Linked DNA regions of Homo sapiens: regions 1, 2 and 3 are each linked to region 4. Evidence: promoter capture Hi-C in 16 types of primary human blood cells and fetal thymus (Javierre and others, 2016). All regions are on one chromosome and are shown on one strand. The core of a region is centred on a gene start or on the middle of the fragment in contact, and the rest is flanking DNA. Distances in the headings are between cores, read along the strand shown. Region 1 holds the start of ZDHHC5 (zDHHC palmitoyltransferase 5). Region 2 holds the start of YPEL4 (yippee like 4). Region 3 holds the start of TIMM10 (translocase of inner mitochondrial membrane 10). Region 4 holds the start of PATL1 (PAT1 homolog 1, processing body mRNA decay factor).

Region 1 (6,035 bases), core at 2,282-4,781, 2.0 Mb before region 4:
TGTGGAGAGTGGGTTATAGGGCAAGTGTAAAAGCAAGGACAGTAATTAGGAGAGTTTTGTAAAAGTGCAAATGTGAGAAATGGTGGGGGATGAAATACTAGGGCAGCAGAGGTAGAGCTGGTGAGAGGATATTCTGAAGGCAGGACTTCATAACGGAGTGGTGAGGAAAACGATGGAATCAAGGATGCATCCTGGATTTTTTTTAACAAGACACACTAGGTTAGACATGAGATTGGGAAAACTCAGGGAGTTGTCCCCCTGAGGGACAAGGGAAACTCGAGGTTTTTGGCAGTGTTAAATATGAGCTATTAATTGTCCATGGGTGGCGGAGGTTGCAGTGAGCTGAGATCGCGTCACTGCACTCCAGCCTGGGTAACAGAGCAAGACTCCATCCCCCAGCACCAGAAAAAATGCAGGAGCGAAGGAGATAGGATCCACAGCACAAAGGGAAGAACTACCCTTTAACACATACAGAGACATTTCACAAGGACAGGAGGAAAGAGCAGTATTTAAACACAAAGAGGTTGACCAGGAGCAGTGGCTCAGACCTGTAATCCCAGCACTTTGGGAGGTCGAGGCAGGCAGATCACTTGAGCTCAGCAGTTGGAGACTACCCTGGCCAACATGGTGAAACCCTAAAAACACAAAAATTGGGAAATGCATGTTCTAGCTTTCTGTGTGCTTAGGTGCCCATGCTACTGAGGGTCTAAGTCCAGGCAGCCGAAGAGTGTGGTGAGCAAGATGAACAAAGATGCGCAGATGAGAGAAGCCATTAACATATTAAAGTAATTTAAAGTTTGGGTGGTCTGGATATCATACTGTTTTAGCCTAGATTTTACTCTGGATACTTTTCAGAAGTAGCTGGCACTTTAAACCATATGTTCTATTAAACGTTCTTTCCAAGAAATATCTTGAGTGATCCCAAGGAAAACTGGACAAGTGGAATCTCTGTCTTTCAACTTTGGGATAGTGATTATACCTCTGTTAGTGCTCATCCACCTAACAAAGCTTGGCAATCCAAGTTAGTATCCCAGGGGAGTTTAGTTTGGTTGGATGGTGGAAGACTGATTTTTTTTTTCCATTTAGCACTGTCTAGCCAAGAGACACCACTATTTACAAGTTCTTAGACAGCTGAAAGGAAAATAAAAATGCCTAATTTGTGGAGGAAATCAGGAAGTCTAAAAATCCAAGAAAAATATTGCAACAGAAAAATGAAAGCTGACTTCATCTTAAAGAAACATGGCTTACAGGTAGAAAATGCCAATATCAGGCCGGGCACTGTGGCTCACACCGGTAATCTCAGCACTTTGGGAGGCCGAGGTGGGAGGATCATTTGAGGTCAGGAGTTCCAGACCAATGTGGCCATCATGGTGAAACCCCATCTCTACTAAAAATACAAATATTAGCCAGGTGTGGTGGCACATGCCTGTGATCCCAGCTACTCAGGAGGCTGAGGCATGAGAATTGCTTGAACCCGGGAGGAGGTTGCCATGAGCTGAGATCGCGCCACTGCACTCCAGCCTGGGTGACAGTGTGAGACTCCCTCTCAAAAAGTAAAAAATAAAATATCAATATTGTATCTTCAATAATTTACCTTTCATATGGTCTAAAGAGGTTTTTGTTTTGTTTTGAGACGGAGTCTTGCTCTGTTGCCCAGGCTGGAGTGAAGTTGTGTGGTCTCGGCTCACGGCAACCTCTGCCTCCCGGGTTGAAGCAATTCTCCTGCCTCAGCCTCCCGAGTAGCTGGGATTACAGGCTCCCCCGACCATGCCCGACTAATTTTTGTATTTTTAGTAGAGGGAGTTTCACTATGTTGGCCAGGCTGGTCTTGAGCACCTGACCTCGTGATCCGCCTGCCTTGGCCTCCCAAAGTGCTGGGATTACAGGTGTGAACCACCACGCCAGGCCAGGTCTGTTTTAAAAATATAAAGTCGTTATAAAGAACTCTCAAGTGTGTTGCAATAAATGCTGGATTGACGCTGTTAACAAGAATAAACTAGAACTTATAATATATGCCATGTCAGAGAAGGAACTAGATTCCAGAAAACAGAAGGTAGTTCTCTTTTACCTTACTGCCTAATGCTAGTGTCAGAACCACAGTAAAGCCAGCAACATTTGAGACCAAACCCGAGGACAGTCCTCAGGATTTTACAGGTGAGGGGCCTCGGCTTCAGGGAAGTGGCTTGTGAAACACCTTTTTGAGGGACCATTATGTAATAGCTAGAGTTGCTTTCGAAAAAAGAAATAGCCTCGAGCCGAATGGGGAGAGAACATGGGGCATTGCTATTGGGTTCACAGCTGTCTTGGGCTAATCAGGGCAAAGCGTAGCACTATGACCTATGCAGAGTTAGCTCGCCAGGGACAGTAGCTATTCTAGAGAACCTTTTGCTTTTAGCTTTGTATTCTAGGATTGGGTGAGGTGAGGGATGCGGGCGCCCATCCCACGTGTGACAGTGGGAAACTAATGGAATTCAGGGAGTTCACTTCCCGGCTCGCACTCCGGGGGCGGGAGGGTGCTGCCACCGCCTCAGGTCGCGCGCTCCTTAGGCTTCCCTCTCACGGTTAGCGCTACGGCTCCAAGGCTGGCGCCTGCTCTTCTTCATCTCCCTCCCCGGCCCTTGGCAGGAGCCTCGCCCTACATTGGCTCTTCAAGTCCGGGCGTCCCCTTCATGTGGGAGACACAGCCCAGACCATTCCATCGCCCTGGATTCTGCCCGGACCAGCGACCTCGCCGGACTGAAGATTTCTCCAGCAAGATTGTTTTAAATAAAGTTTTTGCCATCAAAAAAAAAAAAAAAAAAAAAAAAGGAGATGGGAAGGAGAAGAGGGAGGCCTAGTCGCCAAATGGTTGGCCAATCCGCCGCGAAGGGGCTGAAGCAGGAAGCGGCGATAGTCGTCGGTAATTGGCTGCGCTGGAAGCCTGTCTGGACTGTACCACCTCAGTAGGAGAGGGGTTGCTGAATTCGAGAAGGTAGCTGCTTGCTTTTGAGTACTTCTAGTACACACACATAATTCTTTTCTTATTTCCGGGGGTTTTTGCTTGGATTCAGTGGGAATACAACAGGACGCAGGAGAAGGGAAGACTCGCCTGGCCATTTCCTCATTCCTGACTCCTGTGCATTAGGCCAATCCTTGTCTCTTAGTTGTCCCCGCAACCCCACGGCCTTACGTGCGCGCTCTCGTCTTCTCGCGTGCGTACGTCGTTGTGTTGCTGCAGCCAATCAGGCCGCGAGGTCGCCGCGGTCGCCAGGGTTCGCGCGCACGCCCCAGATCGGAGTCGGGGTGGGGGCTATGGGTGAATGGGAGAGTGAGCGGGGTTGGGCGCGGCAGCGCGAGCCGCATGAATGAGACAAACGTGCGCCGCGCGAGACGTCGCGCGAGCCCGGACTAGGGAGCCAATGGGAACGCTGGAAGGGTTCGAGACCCGGCACTGAGGGCAACGGCCGCGCGCCGGCTCCGAGACGAGCGACGCCTGGCGGGAGCGCGCGGCAGCGGGGCGGGCGTGGAGCGTGCGGGGGCCGCGCGCTGCTTCTCTGAGGCAGGACGGCACTGCCGGGAGGCGGCGGTGACAACGACGGCGGTGGTGACGGGCACCGGGCTCGCGGGTGAGTGCGGAGGACACCGGTCCCTGCGGAACCGGAAGTGCCGTACCAGCGAGGTGGGAGGGGAGGGTGACCTCTAGGGAAGGGGGACCGAAGACGGGGAGGGTATTAAGGCCCTATTTCTCCTCCGGGCCGGGTCTTCCAACCGCGGCGGGACCCATGGGCCTTGGAAACGGACGACGAGTAGAGGCCGGGGATCCACGACCGCCAGGGCTCGGAACGGGTTAGAGACGGCCACTCAGCTCGAGACCGCGGTCCCCGGTGCCTGGCGCCCAGCCGCCGCCCCTTCCGCCCCCGGCCCTGCGCCCTCGGGCTCTGCGGTCCCCGCAGCCCGCTCTCTCAACCTCGGTGGGCCTGGCCGCCGTGGATTCCTTCTTTTCGGTTTCAGCGGTCGTCAGCCCTGCCCCAACGGGTGATTCTCCTTTCCCCAGTCCCGTGGTGGGGACCGGGTGCTGTTTCCCTTTTACCGCTCTGCGGTTCGAGTCCCTCGCTCCACTCTGCTGATACTTATTTTGGCTCAAGCTTCATCCTGTTACCTGTTCTCTCTCACCCGTCCGCTTCCTCCTCCTACCGCCACCAGCCGAGTGCTCCATGCGTTTAGTACTTTGTACTTTTTAAAGTGGAGCCCGAATGCGTTTGTCAATATTTTACCTATATTTGGGGCAGGCAGGTGGAAAGTGTTTTACCCACTTGGCCAAATGAAACACTGAAATAAGAAGTAAGAAAGTTGCTAAAAGTTAGGAAGGCAGTTGTAGGATCACATATACGTTATACGCTAGACTATTTTTTGCCTTGGATTCTTCACTTCCTGGTTAATGCCATCTTGACCAAGTTGATCTAACATTTGCATATCATCCTTCTATCTCAGTATACCTCTGTCCTGGATCAAATATCTTCAGAATGCTCATTATCACCCATTGTATAAACTTAATGTTTACAAAATTATATTGCCATGTATTTTGCTACCTCGGTATATAATGATAACACCCACATTAAACTTCTTGGCTCTTTCTCCCATACCTTGACATGTGAATTATTCCATGGTACCTCCATTACTGTGCATTTAGATTTACTCTATTGTACTGTTACACCGCTTATTTCAACAAAAAATAGTTGTGTTGTCCTTGGTACTGCTGGTATCCACCTATTTAAGGAAATACCTGTATTAAACCTTATTAAAGCCTTCAAACCACATATCCTGTATTGTTTGTTTTACATATACATATTTCCATTTCATAGTTTACTCTGTGCCTCAATATGGCATACATATTACTTTTTTTCTCATTTTTGAGACGGAGTCTGGCTCTGTCGCCCAGGCTGGAGTGCAGTGGCTGCTATCTTGGCTCACTGCAACTTCCACCTCCCGGGTTCAAGCGATTCTCGTGTCTCAGCCTCCCTAGTAGCTGGGATTTCAGGCATGCCCCATCACGCCCTGCTCATTTGTTTGTATTTTTAGTAGAGACAGGGTTTTGGTATGTTGGCCAGGCTGGTCTCGAACTCCTGACCTCAAATGATCCGCCCGCCTCGGCCTCCCAAAGTGCTGGGATTACAGGCGTGAGCCCCCGTGCCCAGCTGGCATACATATTCTTGTATACTTTTTTGATACTAGTATGGATTCAAACTGTTGACTCTGATGAACCATACTCACCCTTGTGGTTTCATCCTAGTATCTGCAGCACATTCTTTTGCTAAGAATTGGTTCATCTTTATTTATACCCAATAAATTGTTAGGTTTTTGATTTCCCTTCTACTGTGTAGCCCCCAAGCATCTCAGATGCTGTTCTCTTTTGTGTTCCCAGTATTATACTCCCAAAATTGCATGGCCTTTCATGACTCTGTATTACTATGTCAATATTAGTCCATGTGACTTTTTTCCTGTGGAAAATATATGAAACAATATATAGTATCTAAATGATATTCTACTCTAGATAAAATTTAAGTAGTATAATTTTCCATCTTTTCTAGTCTTTGGGATTTTGAGGGAAAAGTTTGCTTTAATAGTACATATTGGCTGGGCAGAGTGTCTCACACCTGTAATCCCAGCACTTTGGGTGAGGAGGCAGATCACCTGGAGGTCAGGAGTTCGAGACCAGCCTGGGCAACATGGTGAAACCCCATCTCTACTAAAAATACAAAATTAGCTGGGTGTGGTGGTGCCCTCCTGTAATCCCAGCTGCTCGGGAGGCTGAGACAGGAGAATTGCTTGAATCCGGGACTCGGAGGTTGCAGTGAGCTGAGATCACACCATGCACTTCAGCCTGGGTGACAGAGGGAAACTGTGTTTCAAAAAAAAAAAAAAAGTACATATTGTCTACAAATCAAGAGTTTGCTTTTGTTAACAAAGTTACTGAGGCCTACATTCCAAATGTTAGGCTTCCATTCCTGTAGGAAACTGAGAGTTAAATAATCATTAAATCAGGGACTAGAGAGGAT
Region 2 (6,831 bases), core at 377-2,876, 2.0 Mb before region 4:
ACAGCAGTGACTCTGTGGGTGACTGAAGATGAAGTAATTGCTGGGTTCTGATTAGGAATAGAGGAAGATTGCCTTCTGCCCACGCGCCAGCCTCCGAGTGGCTGAAGGTGCTGGAGGCAGAGGATAAGAAGGGAGGTGGCCCCTGTTGGCTCCGATAAGCAGGTGAGCTGCTGCTTTCTCCTTCATAGGGCTTCCCAGCCCACTGTGGGTGGTTAGCCTAAGTCTGGTTCAGAGATGCCAGCTGGGCACTCTGGCAATGCTAGAGCACTAAGCAGAGAAGAGGCAGTGTTGGCTCTGGTTAGCCAGGGCATACAGGCTCTCCTCGTCCTGTCCTCCGCAGTGGCCACAGGCACCCAGCTGTTCCACTCTCTCTGAAGGCCGCCAGGCAGTCTCTCCGCAAAACCTCCATAGAGACTATCTTCAGTTTCAGGTCCTCTCCTCCGGGCTGGGTCCCAGGAAGACACCTTGGGCTGAGTTCAGGGTGACATTGGGCTCCGGCTGCAGGAAACGGGCCCTCCTTGCCAAGAGACCACCTTTCAGTCTCTGCTTCACAGGTTTGCCTTCAACTTTGCCAGCGAGTTCCCCTCTGACATGCACCACCTTGAAACACCTTCTTCAAGGGGCATGGAGAATGGGGCAGCTTGGGTCCCCAATCCTGAGCTCCTTCTCCAGCCTCCGGCCGTCACGCCTCCCTCCCTCTCCCCTAATTCCCAGTCAAGCCAAGGAAAGGCTGCACAGAAGGCCAGAGAATCACAAAGGGGAGTAGGGGTCATTTTTTCACCCATCTCGGATCACAGGGAGAAGCAAGTTGGGCAAATGACTGGAGAAAAAACAAAGGCAAGCCGAGTGCTGGGGAGAGATGTTCCCCTGAAGTGAGACGGGGCTGGACCGTAGGAGAAAGGGGAGAGGGAGGGCTGGCGGGGGCAACTGACAGCTGACAGCAGAGGCGCCGAGGCGGAGGCTGGAGGAACCAGGTGCGAATCTCGTGCTTCTCAGGGGGGAAAAGAAAAGGGGGGGGACACCTGCTCACAATGGATTTTCTCATCTGCTCTGAGGTTTTGGCACCCCCCAGGCTGGTATTCTCAGTATGGTATGGTCCAAATAATTAGCAGCACCGCCAGCTCCCAGGGCAGGCTTTGGGGGTCTGCACCAGCAGCAAAACAATAAACAGTGATGCCTGATGCTGCAGCCAAAGTTGCCGGGAAATAAGTGCGGGAATCGTCAGAGCTTGGAGAGGGATGGAGGAACCGAGAGAGAGGAGCGGAGGCAGCGGGGAGGGGGAAGGGAGGACAAAGGGTGGATGAATAATGCTTTTGCAAAGGGGAGAAAGCAACACGCAGCAGGAGGAGGAAATTTGCAAAGAGAAAAAAATTCATTTGGAGAAGGGCTGCCCCCTCACCTTGAGGTCTGCTCCAGAGATCTCCGTCTATCTCTCTCTCTCTCTCTCAATCTCTCAATCTCTCTGCTCACTCTTCTCTCTTCTCTTTCCGCTCCTTCAATTGGGAAGGGGATGGGGGTGGGTGGGGGGAGGGTAGTTGGGGGCTCAAGACTGGGGCTGCAAAGCTGGCCAGCTGCTGGGGGGGCAGAGGTTGTCTCTCGTTCTGTACCTCGGTCTGTGGGTGAATGTGGCTGTGTGTTGTGGAACTGCATCATAACACTGTGAGTCATCCATCCCCCCCACCCCCCCTCACCTCCCACGTCAGAGCAGGGCTGGGAGACACAGGAGGCGGGTCGGAAGGAAGGGAGGGGGTAGGCATCAAGGGACGGGGCTAGAGGAGTGGGGGCCGAGGGACAAGGCGGCGATGGTGGGCAAGGGGAGAGGCAGGTTGTTAAGGAGGAAGGCAGTGGGGCCAAGGAGATACGAAGAACCTGGGGGAAGGACAGGGCTGGGCAAGGATGCAGTGAGGGTGGCAGGGCTGGAGGAAAGGAGGTGGCAAGGCTGGTGAAGGAAGAGATGGATGCAGAGTGAGGGAGCACACACACATTTAAGATGATACACTTTCCCATTTCAGCTTGGACACCAGCCCTGAAGCAGGGAAAAGACAGATGTACTAATTGTCATGGATGGCAAACTGTGCCCCCAAACTTGTACCAAGCCTCAAAGCCTTGGTTTAATACTCCTGAAGGAGTAATAGACCCAATGTGACATTTTGCATGCAGGAACCCCTTAACAGCTACCTCCATATTATGCGTGCTTCATGAATGGAGACACCTACGTTATATGAAGTTCTCTATTGGGCTGTAAACTTCCTGAGACAGGCCTTCTGGGAAATTACTCTCTACATCCCAGGACTGCAATGTCCAGTGCAGACCCGTGCATTTAGATGTTTCCAAAATAGCAGTTGTTTCCGCGGCATTATGTTCTGCTGGCCTAGAGGTCTTAGTTCCAGAGGGAGGAATGCTGCCACCAAGAGACACAACAATGATTCCATTAAACTGGAAGTTAAGATTGCCACCTGGCCACTTTGGGCTCTTCTTACTTTTAAGCCAACTTGCTAAGAAGGGAGTTACAGTGTTTGACCCAGACTATCAAGATGAAATCAGTCTACTACTCCACAATGGCGGTAAGGAAGTATGCGTGGAATACAGGAGATCACGTAGGGCGTCTCTTAATATTACCATGCCCTGTGATTAAGGTCAATGGGAAACTGCAACAGCCCAATCCAGGCAGGATGACAAATGGCCCAGACCCTTCAGGAATGAAGGTTTGGGTCACTCCACCAGGTAAAAAAAACATAATCTGCTGAGGTGCTTGCTGAAGGCAAACGGAATTCAGAATGGGTAGTCAAAGAAGGTAGTCATCAATACGAACTATGACCATGTGACCAGCTGCAGAAAATGAGGACTGTAATTGTCATGAGTATTTCCTCCTCCTTTTGTTAGGAACATGTTTGTGCATATATACACTTGTATTAAGAAAATATCTTCATTTTATTTCCTTTCTTTTGCCTTTATCATGTGACATAAGACTTACTGACTTGATATCAGCACTTAAGTGTTGTTAACTCTATGTAATAGCATTTGGGTTGGGGATTGGTGCGTTTCCGGTTGTACAAAGGATAGCTGTATTATGTTAAGCGTAATTATGACCTTATTATTGTCTTTATTTGAAGATCATGTATGATTTCAGGAGACGTGTATGGGTTCAAGTTGACAAGGGGTGGACTGGTGATGGTTAATATTGTCAACTAGATTGGATTGAAAGATGCAAAGTATTGTTCCTGGGTGTGTCTGTGAGGGTATTGCCAAAGGCGATTAACATTTGAGTCAATGGACTAGGAAAGGCAGACCCACCTCAATCTGGATGGGCACAATGTAATCAACTGTCAGCTAGGCCAGAATAAAAGCAGACAGAAGAACGTGGAAAGACCAGACTGGTTTAGCCTCTGAGCCTACGTCTTTCTCCCATGCTGGACGCTTCCTGCCCTCGAATATTGAACTCCAAGGTCTTCAACTTTGGGATTCGGACTGGCTTCCTTGCCCCTCAGCTTGCAGGCAGCCTACTGTGGGACCTCATCTGGTGATCATCTGAGTCAATATTCCGTAATAACTCTGATTTATATATACATCTATCCTATTAGTTCTATCCCGCTAGAGAACTCTGATTAATAGAGCAGTTGAGTTGCATCTTCAGACATGAACCAAGTGTCTGGCTTTGGTCTCAAAGAGACTGAATTAGACTCTTAGCTCTGCCAATTACTTGGCAGGAACCACTAGGCAAATTACTGATAATCTTTGTGCCTTAGTCTTACTCTTCTGCTAAATGAAGCTAATAATATTTATTATTATTAGCTCATGGAGATGCAGAATAAAGTGAGATAACATTTAAATGCCTGAAAAATGCCTGGCACATGATAGGCAGTAAACAGTAGTGTCATTTCAAAACAACATTCTCGCCAGGTGCGGTGGTTCACGCCTGTAATCCCAGCACTTTGGGAGGCCGAGGCAGGCAGATCACAAGGTCAGGAGATCGAGACCATCCTGGCCAACATGGTGAAATCCCCATCCCTAATAAATAACAAAAATTAGCTGGACATGGTGGCACGTGCCTGTAATCCCAGCTACTCGAGAGCCTGAGGCAGGAGAATCGCTTGAACAGGAAGTCAGAGGTTGCGGTAAGCTGAGATGGCGCCACTGTACTCACAGAGGTTGCAGTGAGCCGATCGCGCCAGCCTGGTGACAGAGCGAGACTCTGTTTCAAAAAAAAAAAAAGCATTCTTGGCTGGGTGAGGTGGCTCACACCTTGTAATCCCAGCACTTTGGGAGGCCGAGGTAGGCGAATCACCTGAGGTTGGGAGTTCGAGACCAGCCTGGACAACGTGGTGAAACCCCCCTCTCTACTAAAAATACAAAAAATTAGCCAGGTGTGATGGCGTATGCCTGTAATCACAGCTACTTGGGAGGCTGAGGCAGAAGAATCGCTTGAACCCAGGAGGCGGAGGTTGCAGTGAGCCAAGATGGGACCACTGCACTCTAGCCTGGGCAACAAAGAGAGACTCCGTCTCAAAAAAAAAAACAAAACCAAAAAAACAAAAGTGAAACCAAAACAGCATTCTCAATGTATGACCCCCAAAACCCAGGGAGGATTTATTATTAAATTCTGATATCTCAAGAGACACATGCCAAATTTTTGTCTTATGAAGACATTACATCTTTTGTTGCTATTTTTCTAGCAGCTTCCAGTTAAATTTCATTTGACTCAGAATTCATTTCTCATGGGGTGCTGTCCTGTGCATGTTACTAAAGTATGTGAACACAGAACATATCCCCTAAGACAAAAACCCTGATTTCTAACAGAGTCTAGCATTTAGCAAATGAAGTACGACAAAGATAGGGACTTCTAGAAAGCAGTGCTTGGGGGTGGTTTGTTTTTCTTCTCACACGTAAAGAGGGAAAAAAAAGTTAAGGCAGAGAAATGTGGGTAATGGGAGACATTGCTAGTTGAGCATGAAAATAAAAAGGGATTCTAAATATTTAATCAGGGAAGATTCTGGGGTTTAAAGTAAATTCTGAAAAGACAATGTGGGTGTCTTGAGGGATAGTACTAGAGATTTGGAATTGAGAGAAAAAGCTAGGTAAAGAAAGAAGAGAGAAGTGCTTTTGTTTGGGCAGCAGAAGAGAGGGGAGATAAAAGTAGAACACATGGACACAGGAAGGGGAACATCACGCACTGGGGCCTGTTGAGGGGTGGGGGGAGGGGAGAGGGATAGCATTAGGAGATATACCTAATGCTAAATGACGAGTTAATGGGTGCAGTACACCAATATGGCACATGTATACATATGTAACAAACCTGCACGTTGTGCACCACATGTACCCTAAAACTTAAAGTATAATAATAATAAAATTTAAAAAAAAAAGAAAAAAAAAGATTTTGAAAAGCAATTGTTGAGGAGAACAATGAGAAGTGGGAAAAGGCAAATGATTAGTTTTCAAGGCATGGATCGAAAGTTCTTTTGTTTTGTTTGTTTGTTTGTTTGTTCTTTGAAATGGAATCTCGCTCTGTTTCCCAGGCTGGAGTGCAATGCCATGATCGAGAATCACTGCAACCTCCGGCTCCCGGGTTCAAGTGATTCTCCCACCTCAGCTTCCTGAGTAGCTGGGATTACAGGCATGTGCCACCATGCCTGGCTAATTTTTGTATTTTTCGTAGAGACGGGATTTCACCATGTTGGTCATGCCGGTCTCGAACTCCTGATCTCAAGTGATCCACCCACCCTGGCCTCCCAAGGTGCTGGGATTACAGGCGTGAGTCACTGGGCCCAGCTCGGATTCAAAGTTTGGAAGCAGGCCGGACACCTGTAATCCCAGCACTTTGGGAGGCTGAGGCGGGCAGATGACCCTGAGGTCAGGGGTTCAAGACCATCCTGGCTAACATGACAAAACTCCTTCTCTACTAAACATACAAAAATTAGCTGGGCATGGCAGCGGGCGCCTGTAATCTCAGCTACTTGGGAGGCTGAGGCGGGAGAATTGCTTGAACCCGGAAGGCGCAGGCTGCAGTGAGCCGAGATTGCGCCACTTCACTCCAGCCTGGGCAACAAGAACGAAACTATGTCTCAAGAAAAAGAAAGAAAGAGAGAGAGAGAAAGAAAGAAAGAAAGAAAGTTTGGAAGCAAAAAGAAAATGATCAAGGATCTAGCTGGAGAGGAGAAAAAGAACATATGATGACGGTATTGTTTGGAGGTGGGGTGGAGATGGCAGGAGTGCTTGGTGAAAGATTAAAACTGAGAAAAGAGCTGGGCGCCGTGGCTCACGCCTGTAATCCCGACATTTTGGGAGACCGAGGCAGGTGGATCACCTGAGGTTAGGAGTTCGAGACCAGCCTGACCAACATGGTGAAACCCTGTCTCTGCTAAAAATAGAAAAATTAGCTGGGTGTGGCAGTGGAAACCTGTAATCCCAGCTACTCGGGAGGCTGAGGCAGGAGAACCGCTTGAACCCGGGAGATGGAGGTTGCAGTGAGCTGAGATCGCACCACTGCAATCCAGTCTGGGAGACAGAGTAAGACTCCATCTAAAAAAAAAAAAAAAAAAAAAAAAAGTGAGAGAAGAGAGTGTAGTCAAGCACAGATGCTTTAAATGTTGTGTCCTGACTCTTTCTGTATTTTAGAGGCAAAATGGAGAGCAGCCTAAAGGAAAGGAGGGGTTCTTTTCCCTAAGTTCAGCTTGAGATGGTTATACAATATCCAAATAAAAACAACTTTCAGGTAACTGGGAGAAACTGCCTCAAGGGAGATAGTAGAGGCGAAGATACAGATCTCGGAGATAGATTGCATGGAAAAAGGCGAGGATAAGCCCACTCAGGGAGAAAATTTGCAAATGGAAGACT
Region 3 (6,186 bases), core at 396-2,895, 2.1 Mb before region 4:
AGTAGAAACCATTTGTTGAGGACTGGCTACATGCCAGGCATCCTGCTAAGTGCTTTACCTGCATTCTGTTATGCAATGCTTACAATAACCCTAAGAGACATGTATCCCCATTTTACAGATGAGGAAATTAAGGCAAACAGAGGCTCAGTAATTTTCTAAGGATCACACAGAGCTGGGTTATGAAGCCAGGTCATCTGACCTCACAGTCTACACTTAAAAATCCTTCTAATTTATAGCCTTCAGGATAAACCAACCAATCAAGAGAGCTTAAGCCAATAAAAATAGCAGACATTTCACTAAGTGTTGGGCTTGAGGCTAAGGGCTTTCATATATTTTTAGATTTAATATTTATGATGTCCTATGAGGTAGGTATCATTATGTCTTCTTCATAATGAGGAAACCAATTGTCAAACAGTGCAAGTAACATGTCCAATTATACTGCTGGTGATTGGTGGAGCCAGGATTTGTTCCCAAATTTGCCAAATGGTTATGAGCACTAGTTGCAGAATCAGACTGAGGTGCTAGTTCTGGCATTGTTACTGACCAGCTGCCGACCCTAAGGAAGTTACTTAACCTCTAGAATCATCAATTTCCTCATTTTAAGACGGGACTAATAAAATTAACCCACTGGATTATTTTGAAGATTAACAAGTGCCTGACACAGAATAAAGGGTTTTAAAATGTTAACTACTAAATGGGCTGGCTATGTGCTATTTGTCAAGAGGCAAATACTCAGCTTTTCTTGGAACCTAACCAGAGCCTGGATTGGAGTTTCTCTTCCTGCTTGGCTCCTGCATTGCCAGTTCCATCCCCATCTAAATGCCCAACTCATTCTAGTGACCCTTTACTGCATCTACATTAGGATCAACCTTGAAGGTGGGTGTGGGGAGGGTAAGCATGGGCCTCAGGCTCCCCTACATTCAGGAAGGAATTTGTCATAAGTCATTCACCTTCGATAAGGGTGACCAAGACTTATTTTCCAAGACAGGGTAGCACATAGTTCTCTTTACCTGTTGTACATATCGGCCATCATCTCCACCTCCAGCTCCGCAGCCAGCTGTTGGGCCCTGAGAGGATCCATCTCAGCCTAGCACCGTGGAAGGGATCTCCTTCTGGCCTCCTAATCCTGGGAGCAGACATCACCATCAGCACCCACCGCCGCCGTTCACTCTCCTACCCCTGGGGCTAGAGGATACAGAGGACTCACAGGGCGCCAGACCACCACGGGCCACTAACCTCAGTGAGCTTAACCACCCCATTTCACGGATGTGGAAACTGAGGCCTAGCCCAAGGTCGCACAGGACGTCTATGGCGAGCCTGGAAATCGAGCCCCGGATCTCTGATGCCCCAGTTCCTGGAGGTCACCTCTATTCAGGAGATCGAGGACCGGAGGAGAACTCTCTAACCCACGAACCTGAACCTCCAGGGCCCTGGGAATGGGATCATACGCTGAACAGAGGCGACCGGGACCCAGCCCAAAGGCTACACCTCTGAAATGGCGACGCCATCATCAGGGCCACATTGAATTCAGAGGTCATGTGTCACTTACCACTGCCTGGGACGGATCACAATGCCCACGGAGACCCCAACTTCTGACAAATACTATAACGTTACCCGCCTCCCGAGAGGCTCCAGCGGAAGCACGTGGGTTACTTCCGGGAGGAAAGTCCCGCCTCTTCTTTGATTCAAACTCGCTTCCGGAATTAAATACCAACGAGACGGCGCCGGGAACTCGGCGATCATAGAGAGGGAGCGGCTGGCGCCGGGCGAAGAGGAAGGCGACTTGCCAGTGCTAGAGAGGACACCAAAGTACCATAGAAGCTTGGGCGGGGTGCAGAGCGTCTGCAGCCCGATCAGAATTCAAGTCCTTTGGGATGTCACCGAGCGGCTTCAGTTTATTGGTTCTGTAGGAAGAGGCGTGGCGACAGACACCTGTGAACCTCACCCCCGTTCCAGACAGCCGACTCCTGTGCGCAAATCAGGCGTGGAGAAGGAAGAACGCCCCCAAACAGCGGTTCTGTTTTTGTTTCGCGTTAAAATCACCTGGAACGTTTTTAAACATCCCAGTGCCCAGGACTCACCTCATTTCAATTAAATCAGAATCTCTGGGAGTACAGTTTAAAATTCCTCAGGCAGCAATACAATTTAAAATTCCCCAGGTGATTCGTATGTACAGCCAAATTTGAGAAGCAGTGCTCCACGGGACGTTGTGCGATTACTGCTGTGTGTAGGTCACACTAAGCCCCGTCTGGGGTTGCAAAGATAAGCGAGATAGGCTTCCTGTTCGCAGAAAGACAAGACGTGTAAAATATGTTTTCTTCAACAGTTAGAGGTCCTCAGCCACAAAGAGATAATAAAAGCAATTTCGGCTGCCACCAGGGCTAATCTTGGGTGAGGGAAAGAAGGGTACTGGTGAACTTTCCAACTTTCAAGACTTAATGTGTTCTTCAAACTGCACCATTCACTCATTCCCCACTAAAAAGAAGGAAACAAGGAAACAATACTCAGTCCCTTGATTTGTCACACAATTTCCTGGTAAAATAAATTTACAAGATGTAAATTAATGACGCAAGGGCACATTGCCCATTGGAAAAGGTGGGCTAGACATTTTCTGTGTGGTCATCATAAGCTTCCCTAATTGTCCAAGACCATCCTAATTTTAAACAATTGACCTTTCTACTGCTTTGAAGACTCATCTTTGCCAAACTTGTGCCCTGATTTTTAAAGATTGGGGTATAACATTCATAAAGTGCATAAAATACACGAATGTTAAGCTTAATTAAATATATATGTATCTATATATGTACATTTGTATAACCGCCATCCAGATCAAGATATAAAATACTTCCTGCACCCCAAAAAGTTATCTTGTGTTCCTTCCCCATCAATACCCCCTCTCGAAGTTAACCACTATTCTGACCTCTATCACCATCAATTAGTTTTCCTTGTTCTTGAACTTCGTGTAAATGGAATTATACATTATTTTCTATTTTGTGCCTGACTTCTTTAGCTCAATGTACCTGTAAGATTTCCTCCATATTGTTGTGTGCATCTGTTATTCCTTCTGTTTTATTGCTGTCTAGTGTTTGATTGTATGAGTATGCCACAATTCATCTATCCATTCTCCCGTTGGTGGATGTTTGGATTGTTTCCAGTTTTTGCCTATTATGCAATAATGCTGCTATGATACTCTTGTACAGATGGACATATCTTGCCTTGGTTTTTGCCTTTGAAAATATAGTCAACATTGGCCGGGTGCAGTGGCTCACGCCTGTAATCCCAGCACTTTGGGAGGCTGAGGTGGGTGGATCACCTGAGGTCAGGAGTTCGAGACCAGCCTGGCCAACTTGGTGAAACCCCATCTCTACTAAAAATACAAAAAAGTAGCCCGGTGTGGTGACGGGTGCTTGTAATCCCAGCTACTCAAGAGGCTAAGCAGGAGGCTAAGGCAGGAGAAACACTTGAACCCGGGAGGCAGAGGTTGCAGTGAGCCAAGATCGCACCATTGCACTCCAGCCTGGGCAACAAGAGTGAAACTCCGACCCCCCACTCCCCGCAAAAAAGAAACATTATGGAAAGTTAAGAAACTGCGTGGGAAAAGGAGATGGTTTCTTACAAGAGGAATCTTGCAATATCTACTGGGCCTTATGAAAGGTTGCATACTGTATGATTTCATTTAAGTAACATTCTCAAAATCACAAAATTATAGAGATGGAGAAGAGATTTCTGATTGTCTAGTGTTAGGGTTGATGGGGAGATAGAAGTGTACCTGTAAAGGGTAGCACAAGAGAGATCTTTGTGTTGATGGATAATTCTGTATCCTGATTGTGGTGGTGGTTACAAGAATCTACACAGGTGATAAGATGTCATAGAACTGGCAGGGTGCGGTGGCTCACGCCTGTAATCCCAGCACTGTGGGAGGCCCAGGCGAGCGAATCACAAGGTAGGAGTTCGAGACCAGCCTTGTTGGTGAAACTCCGTCTCTACTAAAAATACAAAAAATTAGCTGGGGGTAGTGGCGGGCACCTGTAACCCCAGCTACTCAGGAGCCTGAGGCAGGAGAATCGTTTGAACCCGGGAGGTGGAGGTTGCAGTGAGCCGAGATCGTGCCACTGCACTCCAGCCCAGGCGACAGAGTGAGACTCCGTCTCAAAAAAAAAAAAAAAGCCAGGCGCGGTGGCTCACACCTGTAATCCCAACACTTTGGGAGGCCGAGGCGGGTGGATCACGAGGTCAGGAGATCGAGACCATCCTGGTTAACATGGTGAAACCCCGTCTCTACTAAAATAAAAAAAATCAGCCGGGTGTGGTGGCATGCGCCTATAGTCCCAGCTACTCAGGAGGGCGAGACAGGAGAATCGCTTGAACCCGGGAGGCGGGAGGCAGAAGTTGCAGTGAGCCGAGATTGTGCCACTGCACTCCAGCTTGGGCGACAGAGCAAGACTCGGTCTAAAAAAAAAAAAGAAAGAAAAAAAAAGTCATAGAACTACTACACACACACATTGTACCAATATAAATTATCTGGCTTTGATATTGAATATAGTTATGTTAGATTTAACCTTTAGTGGAAGTTGGTAAAGGGCGTACAGGACCTCTCTGTACTATTAATGCAACTTCCTGTGAAACTATAATTATTTCTAAATAAAAAGTTTTAAAAATCTCTACAAAAAAGAAAACAAATAAGATTATACAAGTATGAGTAAGAGCTGGCCATAAAGAAAGAAAGAAAAATATTTATATAAAAGATTGTGTAAGTAAAGTACCTAGTCCATGGTAGATGCTCAATAAAAATAAATCATTGTTTTCATTCTTTTTCATTTTTAAACTTTCACTGGGGCAAATTTATTTTTATTTTTACTTAGGATTTTTGAGGCAGGATCTTGCCTTGTCACCCAGGCTTGAGTGCAATGGTATGATCAGTGCTCACTGCAATCGTGAACTCCTTGGCTTAAGCAATCCTCTTACCTCAGCCTCCTAAGTAGCTGGAACTAGAGGCATGAGCCACCATGCCTGGCTAATTTTTTTTTTTAAGAGATAGGGTCTCATCATGTTTCCCAGGCTGGTTTCAAACTCCTGGGCTCAAACAATCCTCCTGTCTTGGCCTCTCAAAGTGCTGGGATTACAGGCATGAGCCACCCCATGCCCAGATGGAATATTTAAAACATACAGAAAAGCAGAGAGAACAGGACATTGAGCTTCCATATATTCATCACCAGGACTTAGGAATTGTTAACATTTGTCCATATTTTCTTCATCTATTTTTATCTCTAACAGATAAAGCCCTTTTATTTATTTATTTTTTCCTTGAGACAGGGTCTCTGTCGCTCAGCCTGGAGTGCAGAGACCCAATCATAGCTCACTGTTAGCTTAAACTCCTGGGCTCAAGCAATCCTCCCATCTCAGCCTCCTGAATAGCTAGGACTACAGGCGCAAGCCACCATGCCTGAGTGGTTTTTAAAATTTTTTGTAGAGATAGGGTCTTGCTATGTTGTCCAGGCTGGTTTCAAACTCCTGGCCTCAAGCGATCCTCCTGCCTCAGCCTCCCAAAGCACTGGCATTACAGGCATGAGTCACTGCACTGGGCCCTGCTTAACAAAAAAAATTTTTTTAAACGGAGTCTCGCTCTGTCACCAGACTGGAGGATAGTGGCACGATCTCCGCTCACTACAGCCTCTGCCTCCCAGGTTCAAGGGATTCTCCTGACTCAGCCTCCCAAGTAGCTGGGACTACAGGCGCATGCCACCACACCCAGCTAATTTTTGTGTTTTTAGTAGAGATGGGGTTTCACCATGTTGGCCAGGATGGTCTCAGTCTCCTGACCTCATGATCCACCTGCCTTGGCCTCCCAAAGTGCTTTATACACCGCGCCCGGCCAACAAATTTTTAAGTGCACAAAATAGTATTGTTAACTATATGTACCATATTGTACACAGATTTCTAGAACTTATTCATCTTGCATAACTGAAATTGTATACCCATTGAACAGCAACTCTCCATCTCCCCAGCTGCTCAGCCTCTGGAAAACCATTGCTCTTATTGATGATGATGCTATTGTTATTATGATTATTTACTATGAGACTGTGTCTTTCCTCTATGTGGAGACCTACAGGTAGGAATCTCCAATGGTCCCAGTTGAATTGCTTCTTGTAGAAGACAGTTTAGATAGCCTCAGACTTTGAAGATATC
Region 4 (6,117 bases), core at 1,659-4,158:
CCGGCTACTCGGGAGCCTGAGGCAGGAGAACTGTTTGAACTCAGGAGGCGGAGGTTGCAGTGAGCCAAGATCGTGCCACTGCACTCCAGCCTGGGTGACAGAGCAAGACTTCATCTCGAAAAAGAATAAATAAATAAATAAATAATATGTATCTATACCCAGGGATGGACAAAATTTCATCTGTGCATACTTTTCTAACTTATGAGTCCTTTCTTGACCCCCAAAATTCTTGCTATAAAAAGCTTTATATTTTGAAGATACTATAAGTTGCAAAGTTATATACTAGTGATAGACTAAATTTTGAAACACATATACCCACATCCTAGAATCTGAATTTTCTACTAGTACACTAGTTTTCCATAAGTTATATGTTATACAAATAAAAATTCCTCTCATCTAGGATTAATTTAAATCTCTCTTAAATGTTTACTTCTCTAAACATTTGAATCCCTCATAGGGGCAACCTGTAGTCATCGATCATATAGCTGGAAGGGGCAAGGCTTACAGAATACCTGATTTTATAGGTAAGGCAAAAAGAGACCCAGAGGAGCAGGATAGGTGCTGTTTCCAGTGAAGAATGAACTATTCTAAGATGAGGAATAGAAGAATATCTTGCCAAGTTAGTGAATAAGGTTACCCCTAATAAGATAAAGCACTTCTAAAAGACAGCACTTGAAAAGAGCAGGAGGCTAAGATGATATTATAAGCGAAAGATGTCACTTACCAACTGCACCTGACCCAAATGTATCATCATTGAATTGATCAATCTCTTCATCTTCTTCTCCCAGTCCCTGAAATGCATCTTCATCTTCATCCAGAGGACAATCCTCCAAAGACTAAAAAAAAAGAAAAGACATTAGTTATTCATGAAATTCACACCCTCATTTTAAAAATGTTCTAAAAATGTTCATCTTACCTTCTCAATGAACATAATTGCTTCATTATGACTTTTTGTAAAGATGGCATTTTTTTTCTACTTCCCAATTTCCCTGACACTGGAAGATTTCATCATCTTTCTTTCACTTTCTATTTCCTAATCCTTATTTCATTTAATTCTTGCCCCACCTCACAGCATTCCATTTCTCTATTTTATCAAGAATCCACGAACAGCAGTTCCTCATGCAACCAAGAAATTAAGCCCACAACTTTCCTTACATCACTGGTTGGAATACTGATGACAATTAATAATGAACCCTTTATTTTCTTGTATCTTTATGTATCTTTTCCAGCAAAATTCTCATCTTTCTCATTATATTCATGTCATCTTTTCAACTATTATTCCGTTTTAAAGCTTTGTCTTCATTTTCCATCTTTCTTATCTTCCCTATAGGCCTAAACTCTAGTGATGAAACAGAAAATTAGGTCTTCAACCACAATAAAATGAACTCTGGAAAAGCTGTGGTATGACAAGTTCAAGTTCTGGCTCCATTCCTACAATCAGTGTGAACATGGGCAACTCAGAAAATTTCTAATTAATTCATCAAATACCTTTTAAGGACCTATTGCGTCTAAGGTTCTGTGCTAGGCTGTAAGGCTCAATGTCTTACATTGTAATGCAGGGACAATACCAACTATGGCAGAGAGTTGTGATGATCAAAGTGGGCAAAGATTACAGATTATCGAACAAAGGCTAGAGGCCACCACATCCTAGGTGTGTTCTATTTTCCCCCTTTACTTCAATCTTACTCAACTGATTTATTCTCCAAGTTTTCCTTTTGGTTTGGTCTTAGATCATTCCTATCAAGTATACCTGTCCTCAATTTTCAAAAATTCAGAATCAGAATTCCATATTCTATCAGTAGGTACGTTTGTGATACACCTTGCCTGGCTACCTCTTAGCTACCCTGTTTACAATGGAAAGATTAGGTCAAAGGGCGTTCTTCTTACCCCAGAGCCCTTCCAAACTCATGCCAATAGGCATGCCACTGCCTCCTTATCAGAGGCAACTTCCAGCAGTACTCCCTTCCAAATCACAAATATCTACTTTACCAAATCGCTGCTTTTTTAAATTAAAAATTCTTAAGGATCATTTACATCAGTTCTTTCATGCTACAAATTCAGAAAGTTTACGTCCAGAGATTAGGAGTCACTCAAGGTCACACAGTGAGTTGGTGACAGGGTCAGTACTGTCTGCTGCTATTGCTACATTCCCGGCACCTTCTCCAAACCCGCGTCTCCCAGCACTAGCCCAGAAGGAACTTCTGCAGGACACGCCCCCCTCCCAACTCGGAGCCCTCTTTAGTAAACGGGCTGGGGCCCTAATCCAACGGCAAGCCCAGGCCCCCTTCACCTGAAGGTAGCCTGTGTGAATGGGATGTGTGTCAGTGTAATTCGAGTGGAGGTGGGTGGGGGGTGGTTCCGGGTCCAGGGCGGGAAACGCGGCTCTGGGAATTCCCGGGTGACACCTACTTAAGAAAAGCACCCGGGGAGATGCAGTGCTCTACCCTCCGTGGCTCCTCTAGGGGTGGGGGCGGGGGTGTGGTCTGGTTACAGCACTTAACGGGCCCTCCCCACCCCAAAACGGAGGCCAACTTTCCCCAGCGGCAACTAATGGGACTGTCTCGACCCATGAAGCCAGCTCCCAGCCCTAGGATTAGACCCGCGACCCCAGACCAGTCGCGTCCAGCTAAGTCCTGCGACTCCCCCAGCCCGCCCCCTGCCCCGCAGGAACACAGGACCGGCGCGCGGAGAGAGAGTGAGGGAGAGGGGCGCGGGAGGGAGGGAGGGGTCACTTCCGGTCGCAACAGCTCACCTCGTAGCGGAACATTCTTGGGGAGGGGGGCAGGGAGCGGGGAGGGGAGAGGGGGAGGGAGGGAAGAAGCGCTGACTCCCCGGCTCCTCCGCGCGCGGGTCCTCCACCGGCTCGCGACCCCTGGCCGCCGCCGTACGCCGGAGCGTGCGTGGGGACGTGCGCAGGCGCGCCTCAGGCAGGGCGGCCACCCCGCTCGGCGCCCGGCGGCGGCGGCTGCGCAGGGACAGATTTGGCGTCCCGCTTCCTAGTCTCAGCGGCGGGAAGGAGGTCCCGTGGCGAGAGACTGCGCACGCGCTGCCCGTCTTCGGCTGCCTGGTGATCTGGGCTTGTAGCTCCGCCCCCTCTTTCTCCGCGCCCTCTAGGCGCTCGGCTTGGAGCTCAGGGGCCGGTCACGAGTTCTCCGTCACCCGTGGGGCGGAGAAAACCCTTGTGATTGTCACAGGATATAGCTTTGAAGAATCCTGCGCTTAGCCTGGGCTGGGAAAGATGAGATTCCCGGGCAGTTTTTCCAACGTCCGACTCACTCCTCAGGCTGCTCGGGGGTCTCCCCGTTGCAATCTGCGCCTTGCGCAGGGAAAAAAGAATGGAAAGTTGCTGGTCTTCGAAAGGGGCGGACTTCGTCGCCACTTTCAGCGGCTCGTCGCCTGCTGAATCCACAGCAGGTCAGGGCTGTGATTTATGTGGCTCAAAGTGATGACGGCGCCCGTTTTTTTTTTTTTTTTTTTTGAAATGCTGAAGACAGGTTCCGGGAGGTTTAACTAGGGTGGTATTTTTAAGCGCCAGGCTCATTAGGCGCGAGGAGCTGCAGAGCCTCGAAGGGCCGCACGGCCGTGGGCCGCTGGCCACGCAGCAGCAGGGTCTTCGGGCCGTGGTGCGCCGCTGGGTGACTCCACTTCCTTAGAGGATCGAACCCACAGAGGAATGTGTCCAGCTTAGAAGCTTCGGCCCCCTGGTTCCAGAATTCTGTTGGGTGGTTTGTTACCTCTAGCACGCTCCATGCCCTTCTTGCCCCTTTCCTTTCAGACAAAACTTGCAGCACAAAGAATGAATTCTTTTGGGTTTCGCAATCCGTTTCTTCCCTGGGCGTCTTAAAATGCAGCCTCGTCTCGGAATGGCATACAGTAAATCCCCTAAATGTTAGTGTGTCTGGATCAGTTTGAGTATCGGAAACGCTGAATTTGTGAAGAAAAGTTCTGGGTGGGAGCTTGTGCTTTGCCACTGGCTAGGAAACTTTGGGCAACTTACCTAAACCTCTCTGAGCCTTAGTTTCTTGTAAAATGGGTATAATTACACCTGCCTCATGATGGTAACACTACTAACGATTGAAGGCTGCCTGGGACTCTGCTAGGCGCTTTATAAAATGGATTATCTCATTGAATCCTTCCTTATGTGCCCCCCATGAGGTAGGTACTGTTATTTTCTCAGTTTACAGTTGAGGAACCTGAGGATTAGCGACATTGTTTGCCTCCAACCACCCAATGGCAAGTGGTAAAGCTAGCAGCTGAGATTTGTCTGATTATTAAAAACCGAGTGTCTTAATCACTGTGCCAGAATAACAAAAGCAAATGTTGACATGGGCCAGGCCTGAACTTTAAAGAAGTGGAGCGTCGGGACAAGATGATTTATTGGTTTTCAAGCATGCATGGAACATTATAAAACATCAAATACTAAGTAACAGGCCAGGCGCGGTGGCTCACGCCTGTAATCCCAGCACTTTGGGAGGCCGAGGTGGGCGGATCACAAGGTCAAGGAGATCTAGACCATCCTGGCTAACAGAGTGACACCCCGTCTCTACTAAAAATACAAAAAATTAGCCGGGCGTGGTGGCGGGCGCCTGTAGTCCCAGCTACTCGAGGGGCTGAGGCAGGAGAATTGCGTGAACCCGGGAGGCGGAGCTTGCAGTGAGCCGAGATCGCACCACTGCACTCTAGCCTGGGTGACAGAGCAAAGACTACGTCTCACAAAAAACAAACAAACAAACAAAAAAAACTAAGTAGCAGTACATCTTAATAATTACCAAAGAATTGGTGCCATGTAGATCAAGGGTTAGCAGACTATGGCCCACAGTCCAATCTGGCCAGCCACCCGTTTTTGTAAAGCAAGCTTTATTGGAATACAGCCAACCTTATTTATTTACATATTGTCTTTGATTGCTTTAATGTTATAAAGTCAGAGTTGAGTGGTTACAATGGATACAGTGTGGCCTGTAAAGTGTAACATATTTACTATTTGGCGCTTTACAGAGTTTGCTGATCCCTGATCTTGCAGATCATGTTTTCTGATCATTATGTAAGATATCAATAGTAAAAACAGATTAGGAAAAAAGTCTTAAGTTTTCAGAAATTAAAAAAGAAAAAAAAAAGTCCTGGCGCGGTGCCTCACGCCTGTAATCCCAGCACTTTGGGAGCCCGAGGCGGGCAGATCACGAGGTCAGGAGATGGAGACCATCCTGGCTAACATGGCGAAACCCTGTCTCTACTAAAAATACTAAAAATACAAAAAAATTAGCCGGGCGTGGTGGCGGGCGCCTGTAGTCCCAGCTACTCGGGAGGCTGAGGCAGGAGAATGGGGTGAACCCAGGAGGCAGAGCTTGAGGTGAGCCGAGTTCGCGCCACTGCACTCTAGCCTGGGTGACAGAGCGAGACTCTGTCTCAAAAAACAACAACAACAACAACAACAACAACAACAAAAACCAAAAAACCCCTCCAATTCAATGACTAAATAATGGAAAGCAGAAAATAGTTACAACTGATGTGGTGGGTGGATTGCATGAGCTCAGGAGTTGGAGACCAGCCTACGCAACATGGCGAAACCGCGACTCTACAAAAAGCACAAAAATTAGCTGGGTTAGTTGTTTTATTAGCTGCTCTGCATTATTTCTGGTCGTGGTGGTGTGCACCTGTGCCTGTAGTCCCAGCAGCTACTCGGGAGACTGAGGACGAAAATAGGGAAGCCTGAATATAAATTAGCTATAAAATAAACCCAAAGAAAGTACAAGGAAAGAAATGCTGTAGAGCAGGAATTAAAGGAGCAGAAAACAAAGTGTCATAGACAGGATCAACAAAATTTCCCATTTCCTCTTATACAACACCTGTCTGTGAGGGAGATTGAAAGTCCCTTTAAAAGAATAATGTATTTTTAGGCGGGTGCTGGTGGTTCACGCCTGTAATCCTAGCACTTTGGGAGGCCGAGGCGGGCGGATCACGAGGTCAGGAGATCGAGACCATCCTGGTTAACACGGTGGAACCCCGTCTCTACTAAAAGTACAAAAATTAGCCAGGCATGGTGGCACCCACCTGTAGTCCCAGCTACTCGGGAGGCTGAGGCAGGAGAATTGCTTGAACCTGGGAGGTGGAGGTTGTGGT

What was found. The method cuts DNA at HindIII sites, captures the fragments that hold promoters and counts their contacts. A CHiCAGO score of 5 or more calls a contact.
Region 1: the fragment with the promoter of ZDHHC5 here is called in contact with the fragment with the promoter of PATL1 in region 4 in 5 of 17 cell types (naive CD8 T cells, non-activated CD4 T cells, fetal thymus and 2 more); the score reaches 9.3 in naive CD8 T cells.
Region 2: the fragment with the promoter of YPEL4 here is called in contact with the fragment with the promoter of PATL1 in region 4 in 1 of 17 cell types (activated CD4 T cells); the score reaches 5.6 in activated CD4 T cells.
Region 3: a contact is called between the fragment with the promoter of TIMM10 here and the fragment with the promoter of PATL1 in region 4, in 5 of 17 cell types (naive CD8 T cells, total CD8 T cells, non-activated CD4 T cells and 2 more). The highest score is 8.4, in naive CD8 T cells.

Annotation. Positions count from the first base shown.
Region 1 is chr11:57,664,583-57,670,617 of GRCh38, forward strand. It overlaps ZDHHC5 (zDHHC palmitoyltransferase 5), which reads left to right and starts at 3,532. Exons shown (of 12, transcript NM_015457.3): 1 at 3,532-3,605. RefSeq lists enhancers at 2,584-3,163, 3,333-3,972, 3,973-4,610, 4,164-4,233 and silencers at 3,364-3,603, 3,854-4,053. The HindIII fragment of the contact is 3,116 bases long and covers 1,007-4,122 here.
Region 2 is chr11:57,648,286-57,655,116 of GRCh38, forward strand. YPEL4 (yippee like 4) reads right to left here and starts at 1,627. Exons shown (of 5, transcript NM_145008.3): 1 at 1,400-1,627. It overlaps MIR130AHG (MIR130A host gene), which reads left to right. Exons shown (of 2, transcript NR_186232.1): 2 at 2,013-4,616. RefSeq lists an enhancer at 1-138. The HindIII fragment of the contact is 14,007 bases long and covers 1-6,831 here.
Region 3 is chr11:57,529,109-57,535,294 of GRCh38, forward strand. TIMM10 (translocase of inner mitochondrial membrane 10) reads right to left here and starts at 1,646. Exons shown (of 3, transcript NM_012456.3): 1 at 1,550-1,646; 2 at 1,011-1,126. The coding sequence starts at 1,081. RefSeq lists an enhancer at 1,646-1,825. The HindIII fragment of the contact is 3,024 bases long and covers 1-1,819 here.
Region 4 is chr11:59,666,129-59,672,245 of GRCh38, forward strand. It overlaps PATL1 (PAT1 homolog 1, processing body mRNA decay factor), which reads right to left and starts at 2,909. Exons shown (of 19, transcript NM_152716.3): 1 at 2,753-2,909; 2 at 725-836. The coding sequence starts at 2,767. PATL1-DT (PATL1 divergent transcript) reads left to right here and starts at 3,182. Exons shown (of 4, transcript NR_187296.1): 1 at 3,182-3,414. RefSeq lists a silencer at 2,639-2,988 and enhancers at 2,948-3,242, 3,169-3,458. The HindIII fragment of the contact is 2,400 bases long and covers 1,290-3,689 here.